Linked DNA regions of Homo sapiens: regions 1, 2, 4 and 5 are each linked to region 3. Evidence: promoter capture Hi-C in 16 types of primary human blood cells and fetal thymus (Javierre and others, 2016). All regions are on one chromosome and are shown on one strand. Each heading gives the region's core, a stretch centred on a gene start or on the middle of the fragment in contact. The rest is flanking DNA. Distances are from core to core; before and after follow the strand shown. Region 1 has its middle 10 kb from the start of LINC02129. Region 2 overlaps KDM8 (lysine demethylase 8). Region 3 holds the start of IL21R (interleukin 21 receptor). Region 4 overlaps LINC02129 (long intergenic non-protein coding RNA 2129). Region 5 has its middle 27 kb from the start of LINC02129.

Evidence for each region. Contacts are between HindIII fragments. The CHiCAGO score rates a contact against its expected background, and 5 or more counts as called.
Region 1: a contact is called between a fragment that was not itself captured here and the fragment with the promoter of IL21R in region 3, in 13 of 17 cell types (non-activated CD4 T cells, total CD8 T cells, activated CD4 T cells and 10 more). The highest score is 17.8, in non-activated CD4 T cells.
Region 2: a fragment that was not itself captured here is called in contact with the fragment with the promoter of IL21R in region 3 in 13 of 17 cell types (non-activated CD4 T cells, activated CD4 T cells, total CD8 T cells and 10 more); the score reaches 19.6 in non-activated CD4 T cells.
Region 4: a contact is called between a fragment that was not itself captured here and the fragment with the promoter of IL21R in region 3, in 15 of 17 cell types (non-activated CD4 T cells, total CD8 T cells, activated CD4 T cells and 12 more). The highest score is 24.8, in non-activated CD4 T cells.
Region 5: a fragment that was not itself captured here is called in contact with the fragment with the promoter of IL21R in region 3 in 15 of 17 cell types (non-activated CD4 T cells, activated CD4 T cells, neutrophils and 12 more); the score reaches 17.1 in non-activated CD4 T cells.

Annotation. Positions count from the first base shown.
Region 1 is chr16:27,185,309-27,188,095 of GRCh38, forward strand. No RefSeq gene overlaps it. Among named protein-coding and RNA genes, the nearest start is that of LINC02129, 10 kb to the left of the region's middle. The HindIII fragment of the contact is 788 bases long and covers 1,014-1,801 here.
Region 2 is chr16:27,220,678-27,223,377 of GRCh38, forward strand. KDM8 (lysine demethylase 8) reads left to right here. Exons shown (of 8, transcript NM_024773.3): 8 at 1-1,091. The coding sequence ends at 53. Among named protein-coding and RNA genes, the nearest start is that of KDM8, 19 kb to the left of the region's middle. RefSeq lists an enhancer at 1,718-2,403. The HindIII fragment of the contact is 8,324 bases long and covers 1-2,700 here.
Region 3 is chr16:27,400,724-27,403,423 of GRCh38, forward strand. IL21R (interleukin 21 receptor) reads left to right here and starts at 1,451. Exons shown (of 9, transcript NM_181078.3): 1 at 1,451-1,895. RefSeq lists enhancers at 1,528-2,070, 1,963-2,082. The HindIII fragment of the contact is 2,346 bases long and covers 655-2,700 here.
Region 4 is chr16:27,164,995-27,167,694 of GRCh38, forward strand. All of the region lies in intron 2 of LINC02129 (long intergenic non-protein coding RNA 2129), which reads right to left. Among named protein-coding and RNA genes, the nearest start is that of LINC02129, 10 kb to the right of the region's middle. The HindIII fragment of the contact is 2,015 bases long and covers 313-2,327 here.
Region 5 is chr16:27,148,574-27,151,273 of GRCh38, forward strand. No RefSeq gene overlaps it. Among named protein-coding and RNA genes, the nearest start is that of LINC02129, 27 kb to the right of the region's middle. The HindIII fragment of the contact is 7,033 bases long and covers 1-2,700 here.

The sequences.
Region 1 (2,787 bases), core at 158-2,657, 220 kb before region 3:
CACAGACCCAAGCCATCAGGAAGCAATGCCCTCTCAGAACGCCTGGACTCCTTGGTCACTGAACAGGAGATGACAGAGCTGGAGGGCCACTCGCTGACGTTTAAATCTTCCACCCAGAGTCCACGGGCCAAGAATAGTCGTCACGTGGCCCTGCCTAACTCCCAGGTGACTGGGAGATGTGGGGGTGCACATGCATCCTGGGAAGTGGCAAACGTCTCTGCTGCAGAGTGTAACTGCAAAAGCACATAAAGCCATATAATTAAATTCCACCTAGGATGCTGTGCTGTAAGACTGCTCTGAGCCAGAACATTAAAAAAGAAATTAGCAAGAGTTATAAACATGGTAAAGACATTTGTAGCACCAAGCTGAGACCTTCTCCTTGACTCCAGCGAAGGGATTAGGAGAGAATTGAAAAGGAAATTACTTTCACAATATGACTCAATGTTATTTAATGTATGTCCCTGTATCAACTAAAATTACCTGCAGGAAAAACTAAACCATGGAAAGAAAGTCTCTGAGGCAAAACAGAAACCAGACAGGGAGGAAAGATGTGTTACGTAAAGTAAGAATTCTTGGGTGGACAACAACATCACTGGTGTGACAGATGGTATTATCCAAAGATGACAACACCAACCTATCCCATCTCACAAGCTCTTGCAATGTGACAATGACAGGCCTCCTTCAAAAGGGAAGGAGCAGTCTGCATCCTCTCCCCTTGATTCTGAGTGGGCCTGAGATTATGGCAGAAGAGAACCCCATAACTTTCAAGGCAATGTTTTAAAAGGTCATATACCCCAAGAGTATACCCCAAGAGTAATGAACACACCTAAAGCCTAGATCTTGATTTCTGATACCATTCTCCAATAAAAGAAACCAGACTTCTTGAAAAAAATGGCTGATTCCAGGACTGGGGCAGGAAATATACATGATGAGCCTGGAGCATATTGTAGCATCAAAAAGTAAGGAAGTACACACATACATGCACACACACACCACAGGTGCCAGTGTGAAGAAGCTTCCAATGGCCAAAGCTAGAACAATTCAAACAACAAAATTATAAGTCTTGGCTGGGCGTGGTGGCTCATGCCTGTAATCCCAGCACTTTGGAAGGCCAAGGCAGGGAGATCACTTGAGGTCAGGAGTTCAAGACCAGCCTGGCCAACAAGGTGAAACCCCATCTCTACCAAAAATATAAAAATTAGCCAGGCATGATGGTGCATGCCTGTAATCCCAGCTACTAGGGGGGCTGAGGCACAAGAATCACTTGAACCCGGGAGGCAGAGGTTTCAGTGAGCTGAGATCACACCACTGCACACCAGCCTGGGCAACAGCGCGAGACTGTCTCAAAGAAAAAAAAAAAAAAGAAGTAGTCTTGGATTATAACCCAGAGTGTAAAATAAATAACCATGAGTCAATACAGGCATTAATAAATGATTACGTAAATAAATAAATGGGAAAGAGAATGGAGAAATCTTCCATGCTGAATAATTCCAAGTAATTTTTTAGATACCCCACCCTCCACCCCTGAGGAGACTGAAAATAACATCAGTCAGGTGCAGTGGCTCACACCTATAACCTCAGCGCTTTAGGAGGCTGAGGCAGGAGGAACACTTGAGCCAAGGAGTTGGAAGACCAGCCTGGGCAACATAGTAAGACCCTGTCTCTACTAAAAAAAAATTTTATGTCAGCTAAATAATGAGAACACATGGATACATAGAGGGAAACAACACACACTGGAGCCTATTGGAGGGAGGAAAGGGGGAAGAGAGAGAAGATCAGAGAAAATAACTAGTGAGTACCAAGCTTAATACCTGGGTGATGAAATAATCTGCACAACAAATCCCCGTCACACGTTTACCTATATAACAAACCTGCATATGTACACCTAAACTTAAAAGTTAAAAAGAATTTAATTAAAAATAAAATAATTTTAAAAAGGCTAACATCAACAGTGGTAAGTCATGTTGATAGTATGTACCCTTTTTTTTTTTTTTGAGACGGAGTCTCGCTCTGTTGCCCAGGATGGAGTGCAGTGGTATGATCTCGGCTCACTGCAACCTCTGTCTCCTGGCTTCGAGTGATTCCCCTGCCTCAGCCTCCTGAGTAGCTGGGATTACAGGTGTGCATCATCACATCTGGCTGATTTTTGTATTTTTAGTAGAGATGGGGTTTCACCATGTTGGCCGGGCGAGTCTTGAACTCCTGGCCTCAAGTAATCTGCCCACCTCGGCCTCCCAAAGTGCTGGGATTACAGGCGTGAGCCACTGCACCCAGCCAGATAGTATGTACCCTTGATATGATGTGATGAGAAGGGTACTTCACCCCAAAATGCATAACCCCAGCCTAACCATTAGAACATCAGAAAAACCCAGCCAAGGGACTCGCTACAAAATACCTGCCTAGTACTCAAGACCATCAAGGTATGAAAACCAAGGAAAGTCTGAGAAACTCTCACTGCCAAGAGAAGTCTAAGGAGACATGGCCACCAAGGTAATGTGGTGTTCTGGATGGGATCCCAGAAGACAGAAAGGACATGAGATAACAACTCAGGAAATTTGAATAAAGTATGAGCTTTAGTTATTTTAAAAAAGTATCAATATTGGTTCATTAATGGTGGGAGATGCACTATACCATCTAAGATAGTAATCATAGGGAAAACTGGATGCAGGATATATGGGAAATTTCTGTACTAGCTTTCTGATTTTTCTGTCAATCTAAATGTATTCTGAAATTAATTTTTTAATTTAAAAAAGTCATACAGTCTGAAGCCATCCTGTTGAACAGACC
Region 2 (2,700 bases), core at 61-2,560, 180 kb before region 3:
ATTACGTGCGGGCTCTGGATTTGAGCTTCTCGGTCAGCTTCTGGTGGTCGTAGCCAGGATAGGAGCTGAAAGGGCCTGACATGCAGACAGCATTCATCTGTTCACTAATTTCCTGGGTCCTGGAATCTATAGAGACAAGCAGGACTGAACCTGTGTCCTGAAGAGCCTTCACTGCCCAGTGGCAGCCCTGGGGGGCTGAGCTCCAGCACTGGACAGGCACAGAGCAGGGGCTGCCCAGGAAGGAGCACACTCCAGGCCAGGGGTGCATGGCAGAGGAAGGTGGGGAGAGCCCAGAAGGACATTGCAGACAGACAGCCTGCATGGGGACTCTGGCATCAGAAAGCCGAATGTTTTTGGGAAACGGGTGGGTCACACAGGCAGGGGTGAAACATGGGCTCTGAGGTTGGCTACCTGATTCAAACCCGGCCGCGCTGTGCACCTGCTGGGTGACTTGGCCAGGATCCCCCACTTCGCTGTGCCCATATGGAAAAGAGGGCAAGGCCAGTCCTCACTGCCGAGGGCCGAGAAGGCGGTGCCGAGCCCCTGCTGCTGCATGAACCTTAGCCGCTGTCACTGATCCCAATTACTCTGATCCTTTTGCCCTTCCTTCCCATAACGGCCTGCTGGACGCCACAGCCTGAATACTGGAGAGAGCTGGGCATTGCCCAGGTCACAGGAGAGAGTCCGTAGAGACCTGCGCAGGAGCCGGGACCCCTGCTGAGCAGTGGGAGCTTTCTGTCATCCCCATGGCTCAAGGATAACCTACCTGCCTGCAGAGAAGTGCGAAGGTCTTGCTGGATGACTTTTCACCCGCACTCACCCAGGAGCAGGCTCCCAAGTGAAGAAACCACCGAACCATCACCAGCTCCTAGAAGCCTCCCTCCTACCACCTTCTAGTCACCATCCCCCAGAAGTAATGACTCTCAAACCTGGGGGATTTGAGGCCAGGGGGAGAGCCAGGCTCTATGCTTTCTGTAATTGTGTCTCGTTTGTGTGCACGCAGGTTTGTTTTATGTTTTGGCCATTAAGATTTTCCCCAGCCCTCTGTTTTTTGTTTTTTAAACTAAATAGAGATGGGATCTTGCTATGTTGCCCAGGCTGGTCTTGAACTTCTGGGCTTAAGCAATCCTCCCACCTTGGCCTCCCAAAGTGCTGGGGTTACAGGTGTGAGCCACATGCCAGCCTTGGCTTCTTTCTTCCCCGCTTCTAAGATAGGCCTGGGGAAAAGAGCCCTGAGGGTTGAGCTGCCATCCTGCCAGCATCCTGCCACTGGCTCAGCTGCTTGTCTTTTAGCCAAAAATCAAGCAGCCCCAGGAAAGATTCTGGTTGGCCAGGAGGTAGCTACCCTGGGGTAACTAGAAGGGGGATGGGAAAGTGGCTGTGGGCAGCTGAACTCCAGCTCCTGATGCCCTCTACCCAGGCCAAGGAATTTGACTTTATCGTGTAGGTCCTGGGGTTCTCAGCCTTTGAGCAGACACAGCAGAATCTGCATTCTCGAAAGCTGGCTGTTGGCAGGGAGAGGCCGTGATACTCATCCTGGGAGTGGGCTGCCGAGGGGCCATGGGCGTGCTGGGGAGTGACAAACACAAGAGCTATCTGGAAGCTGAGTCCACTTGGCTCCGTGGGCAGCTGTTTGCAAGGACATTGTTTATTCCCTGCCATGGTTAATAGTGAATTACCTAATCTTTCACAGGAAGAATTTACACCAGATGTCAACACCCCTGAAAGTAGCGAGGCATAAAACAGGGACGCCCTCATGACTAGGTTCGCCATTAGTGAGGAGGGGTGGCGGCCCGGCCACAGTGGGCTGTGACTCCTGGCCCGCCTGTGTAACTCAAACCCCTTCCCCAGCTGAAGGACAGGTGGACTGTGGCCCCAGCTCCCAGTGCCTAGCCGCTCCAGCTGGCAAGCCCCACGGCCCATCTGTAGTGTAGCGTGACAGAAAGCTGGGCACGGGAGGCCACGTTCATTAACGTGTGGTATCCTGGCCAGGTGGCTTCAAGCAGATGTCCCTTGTCAGATGAGGAATGGGAAAAGGGGAAATGTCCTGCCCTGTGGGTGAGGACACGCAGCATCTGGAACTCCTCATGAGGGTTTTGAGTGAGTGCTAGTGTGCGTTGTGGGACGTTCATGTCGGTGTTATCATGCAGGGGTTGGAGGCAAGAGAGACAAGCAGCAGGAGGGCTGGTGTCCCCAGTGGCCAAGTGCCCAGAGGCTTCCTGAGTCCCCAGCCAGGACTGACTCGAGCTCAAAGAATGAACAGCCAGAACCACAGGACAACTGGGACAGTCCGGAGCTGCCCCGGCCCCTCCTGCAGGCATTATTTGCTAGTTGGCTTTTTGCCTTCTGGCGTCCATCTTCCCGTCTTCCAGAACGGCAAGCTGACTGCATTCTGGAGAATGACCTCTGCCCCAGGGATGCGGTCCTGGAAGGTCTGTACATCAGCTCCTCCCTGGACCGGCATCTTGAGGGCGTGTCGGGAGGAGCTCAGACAGGCTGGAGCCGACCCCCTGTGGCAGCAGCGCCCGCAGTGACAGAATTGTCTTGACATCCATGACCCTTATTCCAAGGTCTCCCATTCTAGACTGGTCCTGCCTTCCTGTCATTTCTGCAAGCCACCTCATACGTTTCCAAAAAACCCCTCTTTAGGTGAGGCCGGCCGGGGCTGGCAGTGGCTGAACGTACTGGGCTTACCAATGG
Region 3 (2,700 bases), core at 201-2,700:
TCAGTGCATGTTATCAGAGAATTCACCCCGAAGATCAAGAGAAAGAAAAACAAAAGCTGGTGTCTTCCCAAGGTTCGTTCTCCAGAGAACACGACACACTTCGGTAGCTGGGAAGAGCTCTACAGGGCCAGGATCCCTCAAATCAACCACAGGGGAATTTGTACCAAGTTCCTCAAAAACAGCTAGAAAAAAAAAGAAAGAAAGAATAGCAAGACGCTTTCTCTTTTTTCTCTGGAGTGGTCACGAAAGTCAACAGCAAGTTGATTCCCAAAAATGAGTCAGCAGGGAGAGCTACAAATTGCATCTTGTTATCAAAACAGCATAAAATAGCCTCCCCCAACTGTGGGACATTTCATCCTGGTATGGCCCCGTTTTCACAGCCTGGTATAAGCTTAGGAATCAAACACACCCAGGTTCAAATCCCAGCTCTAATTCTTCTTGGCTTGTGTGACGTTTCACTCCTCTGGGCCTCAGTCTCTCCATCTGTAAAATGGGACTAATCTTGTCTGCCTCACACTTTGTGGGATAAAGTGAGATCATGTAGGCACCAAAGTAATTCGAGGTGGTGGTGATGGCAGTGGTAGTGGTGGTGGTGGTAGCGGTGGTGGTGGTAGCAATTCTCTTGCTCTCCTTTGGAGACTGCACTAGGCATTAAGCTTGTTACATTTTGTCTCCTGGTTTCTTGAATGTCTTCCAGAAACATCTGACCCTCTCATGGGCCTCTGGCATGTTAGCAAGATGAAAACTCTCTTGAGAATTTCTTTTCTCTATTTTCTTCTTGAATTCTCATGTGTTAATGTCTGCCCTCTTCCTCATAGCTAGGTGCCCCCATTTGACAGATGGGCAAAGTGAGGCATTCAGAGAGGTGATGTGACGTGCCCAAGGGGTCCTGCTCCCTGGAGCTCTGCAGCAGGAGACTGGATCCAAAGGAAATGGAGGCAGAGAGGCATGGGGGTCAAGCCAGAGCAGAGGGTCCCAAGCTCAGACCCTATTAGGCAGGTAAGGCTCAGGAATAAGAAACAGGCTGGTTTGCAAAGTCTGAAAAAGGGGCTTCCGTGGGACCTTGGGCAAGGTTCTGGTCCTTCTCTCTGTGCTGAGGGGCTGGAGTCGGCCACTGAGGACTCTGGGTCCACGGGTGAAACTGTGCCACATCTTCACACCTCTGGCCTCAGTTTCCATATCTGTGCAATGTGGTGGCTCCAGGAGGCACTGCCTGCCTCATGGGTTATGACTGAGAGGCCTGTGGGGATGATGTCACAGGTCCCTAAGAGGGAAGTGTCACCCCGATGGCCCCAAATGTCTTACTTGCAGGTGACCTTTGGTGACAGTGGGTGCCTGCTGTGGGGCCAGGCCCCCTCCCACCTCTTTCTCACTCCCTCCCAGGAGGAGCCCAGCTGCGGGTGGGCGGGGCTGGCGGGGAGCGGCTCACCACATCCTCCTCTTCCTCCCCACTCTGCACATGCGGCTGGGTGGCAGCCAGCGGCCTCAGACAGACCCACTGGCGTCTCTCTGCTGAGTGACCGTAAGCTCGGCGTCTGGCCCTCTGCCTGCCTCTCCCTGAGTGTGGCTGACAGCCACGCAGCTGTGTCTGTCTGTCTGCGGCCCGTGCATCCCTGCTGCGGCCGCCTGGTACCTTCCTTGCCGTCTCTTTCCTCTGTCTGCTGCTCTGTGGGACACCTGCCTGGAGGCCCAGCTGCCCGTCATCAGAGTGACAGGTCTTATGACAGCCTGATTGGTGACTCGGGCTGGGTGTGGATTCTCACCCCAGGCCTCTGCCTGCTTTCTCAGACCCTCATCTGTCACCCCCACGCTGAACCCAGCTGCCACCCCCAGAAGCCCATCAGACTGCCCCCAGCACACGGAATGGATTTCTGAGAAAGAAGCCGAAACAGAAGGTAATTCCAGCCCTGGTTTTCTGCTGGGACCAGGGTGCCTTCTCTGCCCAGGAGGGACTGTTCCCTGCCTGCTGCATCTAGTGTCACAGTGGGAGGGCTCGGAGGACTGTGCCCAAGTCACAATTGGGGACACTGAGGCAAAGAAGATTCATGCAGTGAGGCTGGGCAGAAATGAGGTTGGGGTCTCTTGTTCAGCACAGCTTAGGGGCCCAGCAGCAGGGATGTGGCTGAGACGACCCTCTATCTTGAAAACCAGCCTCCAAAATGTAGCGGGCTGGGGAAGGAAAGCCAGTTTCAAGCCAAACATAACATGTCAATCACCCGATTCTGGGCGGCTGAGTCGGGAGGTGACGGGCATGGGTGTAGAGCCTGATGGGACCCATTCTGTGTCAGTTTCTATGTCTTACCACCTTGATTCCACCCAGTCATTCAAAACAATGGCTGGTGTGCCCATTTCGCAGATGAGGCAATGAGGCTGCGAGAGGTAGAGTGATTTTCCCTCGGTGACTCAACTGGGACGTAGCAGGTCGGGCAGTCAAGCCAGGTGACCCCATGAGCTGTCGCTGCATCTTTCTCATGAAGCACGGGGAACGGGTCGGATGGTAAGAGGCCAACCCAGTTCCCTGTGCATGTGGAGGAGAGGAGGGTGGGGAGGTCAGTGGAGGCTGAGCCTTGAAGGATGGGAAAGGAAGAACATTCCTGGTGGAGGAGCCCTGGGGAGCGGGAACTTAGGACTTGCCGCAGGAATGACGTCTCTGCTCAGTGAAGGCAGAAGACCAGGTGCGGGACATTCAAAGCCAGGAGG
Region 4 (2,700 bases), core at 70-2,569, 240 kb before region 3:
CCTCAAAAAAGAAAAAGAAATCTTGTGCTTCTTTTTTAAATTTATTTTCAACCTAAGAAAGATGAATGAAGAAACAGCAACAACCACAACCCCAAAAAAAGAGAGAGAAATGGCATGCTGATACCTTTCCACTTCCCAGCTCCAGGCCTTTCTTAAGACTTAGGGATATTCCTGCCTTAACTTTCGTGAGACACCTCCATATCCTAGTCAGAGTCGTTGGTTGCCAGCAACAGACTCCACTATGGCGGCTTTAGGTCACAAAGGCATTCATCAAAGGACATTCATCAAGTCTCCAGAAGAACCAGAGAATCAAGCTTGGACCCCACAAAGCCAGAAGTCCCCAAATTACACTGCAAGAATACTGCAACCAGGCCCCTACAGCTATCCTGCCCACTGCTAGTGCCAGGCCCCTCCTCACGCTGTTCCTGAGAACTGGGTCCTGTACTCCTGCTGCAAGGAAAGCTACAAAGCAGCACTCCTGACTTCTGACATGGAGAGGCAGAGCTCCTAAATAAAGAGACTTCTCATAGCTATTCAAAAGAAACCACACTGGCCAGAAGCAGCAATGCATGCCTATAGTCCCAGCTACTCGGGCAGCTGAGGCAGGAGGATCGCTAGAGCCCAGGAGTTCAAGTCTAGCCTGGGCAACATAGCAAGATCCCATTTCAAAAAAAAAAAGGAAGAAAGAAAAAAAGAAACAACATAACCACATTGCATTACAAATGTCTGCAACATCATTGTGGTAACTTCTGGCTGCAACAGAGTCTTATGATAAAACTCTGTGCCCCAGCTCTGATCACTGGAACAAGCTGGATAGGTCCATTTTCTTGCCAGGGTGAGACCAAGGAGGTGCCCAGAATGGAAAATTTAAGGAGGCCCTCACTCTCAGGCTCGTGAAAGTGCAGGGTCAGCTCCTGAGAGTGGGGTCTCCTTAAATGTTGTGCCCTGAATGCCTCACTTGCCTTATCCTCCTCCAGGCCCTGCTTCTTGCTGCTCCTAAAGGCCTTTGCTTTCTGGATATTTCTCAGTCCTCCTGCAAACGCAGATGGTAGGCCCACACCTACTAGTGTTCTGGGGATATCCCAACATGCCCATGTCCACTTAGAATCCACTGGAATTTCTGACACATTTGTTTGATGCACTAATTAGTTAATAATGGGCCAGACACAGTGGCTCACACCTGTAATCCCAGCACTTTGGGAGGCTGAGGCGGGAAGATCACTTAAGCCCAGGAGTTGGAGACAAACCTGGACAACATAGTGAGACCCGCATTGCTACCAAAAAGAATTTTTTAATTACCTGGGCATAGTAACTTGTAACCTTGGGAGCTCTGAAACATGGTCCCCACATGAACAGAAAATCTGAGAAAGCATATCTGTGTGGGTGGACAGAGAGAAACAGAGATAAGAGGTAGTAATGTGGGCAAGATGGCACATGCCTGTAGTCCCAGCTATTCAGGAGGCTGAGGTGGGAGGATCACTTGAGCCCAGGAGGTTGAGGCTACAGTGAGCTAAGATTGCACCACTGCACTCCAGCCTGGGTAACAGAGCAAGACCGTGTCTCTAAAAAAGATAAAAACAAAATAAAATAAAAAATTAACAATGTTAACAGAAAACACTTCTTGCACACTTACCTTGTGCCAAGCACGCAGGTGTTTCATCAACACCACAGCTCTAGGCAGTATTCACTACCATTATCTCTGTTTTCCACCTTCTGAGGCACAGACAGGTGAAGGGGCTTGCCAAGATCACACAGCAAGGAACAGAACCAGGATTTGGACCCAAATCTCCCCACTGCCCCTATGAAGCCCCTTCAAGGAAAGCAGCTGCCTGTCTTTGAAAGCCAAGGAAACAGTGGAAATGACAAGTGTTAACCCACTCGTGGCATGTTAGAATGACTGTGGAGCTATTGAATCCTCGGCCCTTAAATCCGCTAATTACAGTTACAATCAATGGCATTAGTGTAAGGGCTCATTCTATTACCAAGACGGTGACGCCGGAGCCCACCAAGCCCACCCACTCCACCAACCACAGGCTCTTGAAATGAGCTGAAATCTGCCTGCTTCTGACCGGTCATCTGGGGCCAGATTCAAGCCTCCAGGCTCAGCCTCTCTTTCCTCTCTGTGGCCTGGCCGGGAGGACAGGTTGTTTTCTTCAGAATCGCCACCCAGACCCAAAAGACAACGGGTTTCCAGAGGCCCCGCACAGCCTTGGCGATGGGAAGCAGATTTTTGCCATTTTCTTCTTTTAGCCAAGGGACATTTAATTAAGGCTCACAAAACCCGCCTAACATATGATCATAATTATATCAGCATATTGGGGCTGGGAAGCTTTAAAGCCCAGTTACAAGTTGGTCAAAGACAGGCATGCAGAGGCCTGGAGAGGGATGGGAGAGAGGGGAAAATGTACTCTCTGGTGACACCAAACCAAAACCAGTAAGGGAACGGTGAGTGGGATTTGCCTGTGGGATAAGGGAAGGGGAAAGGCAAAAGCTGGGCTCTGGGGCGTGTTTTGATATTGGAGAAACTCACACGTTTTACAGGATGCACTTCTGCTCAAAGCAACTGTTTAGGCAGGGAATGGTGGTGAATAAGGCATGAATGAGAGAGCCCAGTAATCGCTGATGATAGCAATGACGGAAAACACAAATCACAGTCCCTTTCATCAGCATGTTTTCATCTTTGGCATTTAACACTAGCCT
Region 5 (2,700 bases), core at 186-2,685, 250 kb before region 3:
TATTTGTCATTTGGAAACCCCTCATTTCATATATGGGAAAATGGAGGCCATAAACCACATGGTAAGTCAGTTTGGCCACGTAGCTGACACTGCAGCAAAGATATATGTGCAGGTAGGGCAAAAGGCAGTCTTCCTTAAACCCCCAGAGTGTTCACTCTTGGGAGGAGGAAAGCCAGCCTCAGCCCAGGAGCTCTCTCCCAAGTAATCCACCTTGATTAGGTGATAATAATATTCATAACAAAAAACAATATTTGCCACTTATAGGGCAACTTCCAGGTGTGAGGCCCAGTGTTAAGTGCCTTAAAGGCACTTGTCACTTCTCCTCCTTAAACCATCCCACTGGGAGGCTAAGGCAGGCAGATCACTTGAGCCCAGGAGTTTCAGACCACCCTGGGCAACATGGCAAAGCTCCATTTCTACAAAAAAATACAAAAATTAGCCAGGTGTCATGGTGCATGCCGGTAGTCCCAGCTACTTGAGAGGCAAAGGCAGGAGGATCCCTGGAGCTGGGGAAGCAGAGGTTGCAGTGAGCCACAGTCGTGCCATTGCACTCCAGCCTGGGCAACAGAATGAGACCCTGTATCAAAAAAAAAAAAAAAAAAAAAAAAAAGACCGGGCACAGTGGCTCACACCTGTAATCCCAGCACTTTGGGAGGCTGAGGTCGGTGGATCACGACGTCAAGAGATTGAGACCATCCTAGCTAACATGGTGAAACCCAGTCTGTACCAAAAATACAAAAAATTAGCCGGGCATGGTGGCAGGCACCTGTAGTCCCAGCTACTTGGGAGGCTGAGACAGGAGAATGGCGTGAACCCGGGAGGCGGAGCTTGCAGTAAGCCAAGATCGCACCACTGCACTCCAGCCTGGGTGACAGAGCTCTCAAAAAAAAAAAAAATTCCCAAGGTGGTTAGTGATAGGTGATATGATGTCTGTCCATTTGAAAGACAGAAAACCAAGACTCAGAGACATAAAATAATTTGCCCAATATCACACAGCCAGCAGTGATGATATTGGTTTCACTGAATAAATGTTTACTATGTGCCAAGTCCTCAACTAAGGGATGCTTTATCTCTTTTAATCCTCACAATAGTCCTATGAATGGGGTGGTATCATTCTCATGCTACAGATAAGAAACTTAAGCCCGGAGACAGTGGCTCATGCCTGTAATCCCAGCACTTTTAAAGGCTGAGACGGGAGGATAACTTGAGGCCAGGAGTTCCAGACCAGTGTGGGCAACATAGTGAGACACCTATCTCCACCAAAAATAAAAAATTAGCTGGGTGTGGTATCACATGCCTATAGTCTCAGTTACTCAAGAGGCTGAGGTGAGAGGATCGCTTGAGCACAGGAGTTCAAGGCTGCAGTAAGCTGTGATCACACCACTGCACTCCAGCTTCAGTGATGGAGTGAGACCCTGTCCCAATAAAAAGAAAAAAGAAACCTGAGACTCAGTGAGGATGTATCCATTGGCCTAAGCTCATTAAAGTGGGATTGGAATCCAGACAGCCTGACTCTACCATTGTCTTAGTTCAGGCTGCTATAACAAATACCATGGACTGGTGACTCAAACAACATTTAGTCCTCACACTTCTGAAACTGAGAAGTTTCAGATCAAGGTCAGTGTCAGCTGTGTGGCCAAATCCAAAACCATGTGCCTACAGATTTGGTGTCCGGTGAGGCTTCTCTTCCTGGTTTGCAGATAGCCACCTTCTTACTGAATTCTGACATGGCAGAGAGATACATCACCTTTCTTATGACTTTTTTTGGAGGCGGAGTCTTGCTCTGTCACCCAGGCTGGAGTGCAGTGGTACAGTCTCAGCTCACTGAACCTCCACCTCCTGGGTTCAAGCAATTCTCCTGCCTCAGCCTCCCAAGCAGCTGGGACTACAGGTGCGCGCCACCATGCCTGGCTAATTTTTGTGTTTTTAGTAGAGACGGGGTTTCACCATGCTGGCCAGGCTGGTCTCAAACTCCTGACCTCAGGATCTGCCTGCCTCGGCCTCCCAAAGTGCTGGGATTACAGGCATGAGCCACGGTGCCCAGCCTGGGCCACCACGCCCAGCCTTATGACTCTTCTTATAAGGTCACTAACCTCATTAATGAGGGCTCCATCTTCATGACCTAATTACCTCCCAAAGGCCCCACCTCCTAATCCCATCACTTTGCGGGTTAGGGCTTCAACATATGAATGGGGTAAGGAGGAACTAACACTCAATCTATAGCAACCATTCATGATCATGACAGTGTCAACCTGAAATAATCAAAAGGATCAAAAACCAGTTTAAAAGCGTTTATTCAAGCACAAAGCTGAGAATGGTCATTTGAGTAACATAGACTCCAAAGAACTGGGTTCAGTGATTCAGGATGAAAAGTTAAGATCTTGCTTATACAGGCAGAAAACAAAGAAATTTAGTAGGATTATAACATTTTCTATACAAGGCTGGTTCATGAGGTACAACAATTGTATTATTTATAGTTTGTTTTCTTTTCCATCCAGCTTGTTTTCTTTTCCTTTCCAATTTAAGAGGCTGTATTTGACAGTCCACTTTAGACAATGATAGCCAAGAGGTCTTTGTGTGATTCCAATCCCACTTTTGTGAGCTTAGGCCAATGGACGCATCCTCACTAAGTCACAAGTTTCTTTTTTCTTCTTACTGAGACAGGGTCCTACTCTGTCACCCAGGCTGGAGTGCAGTGGT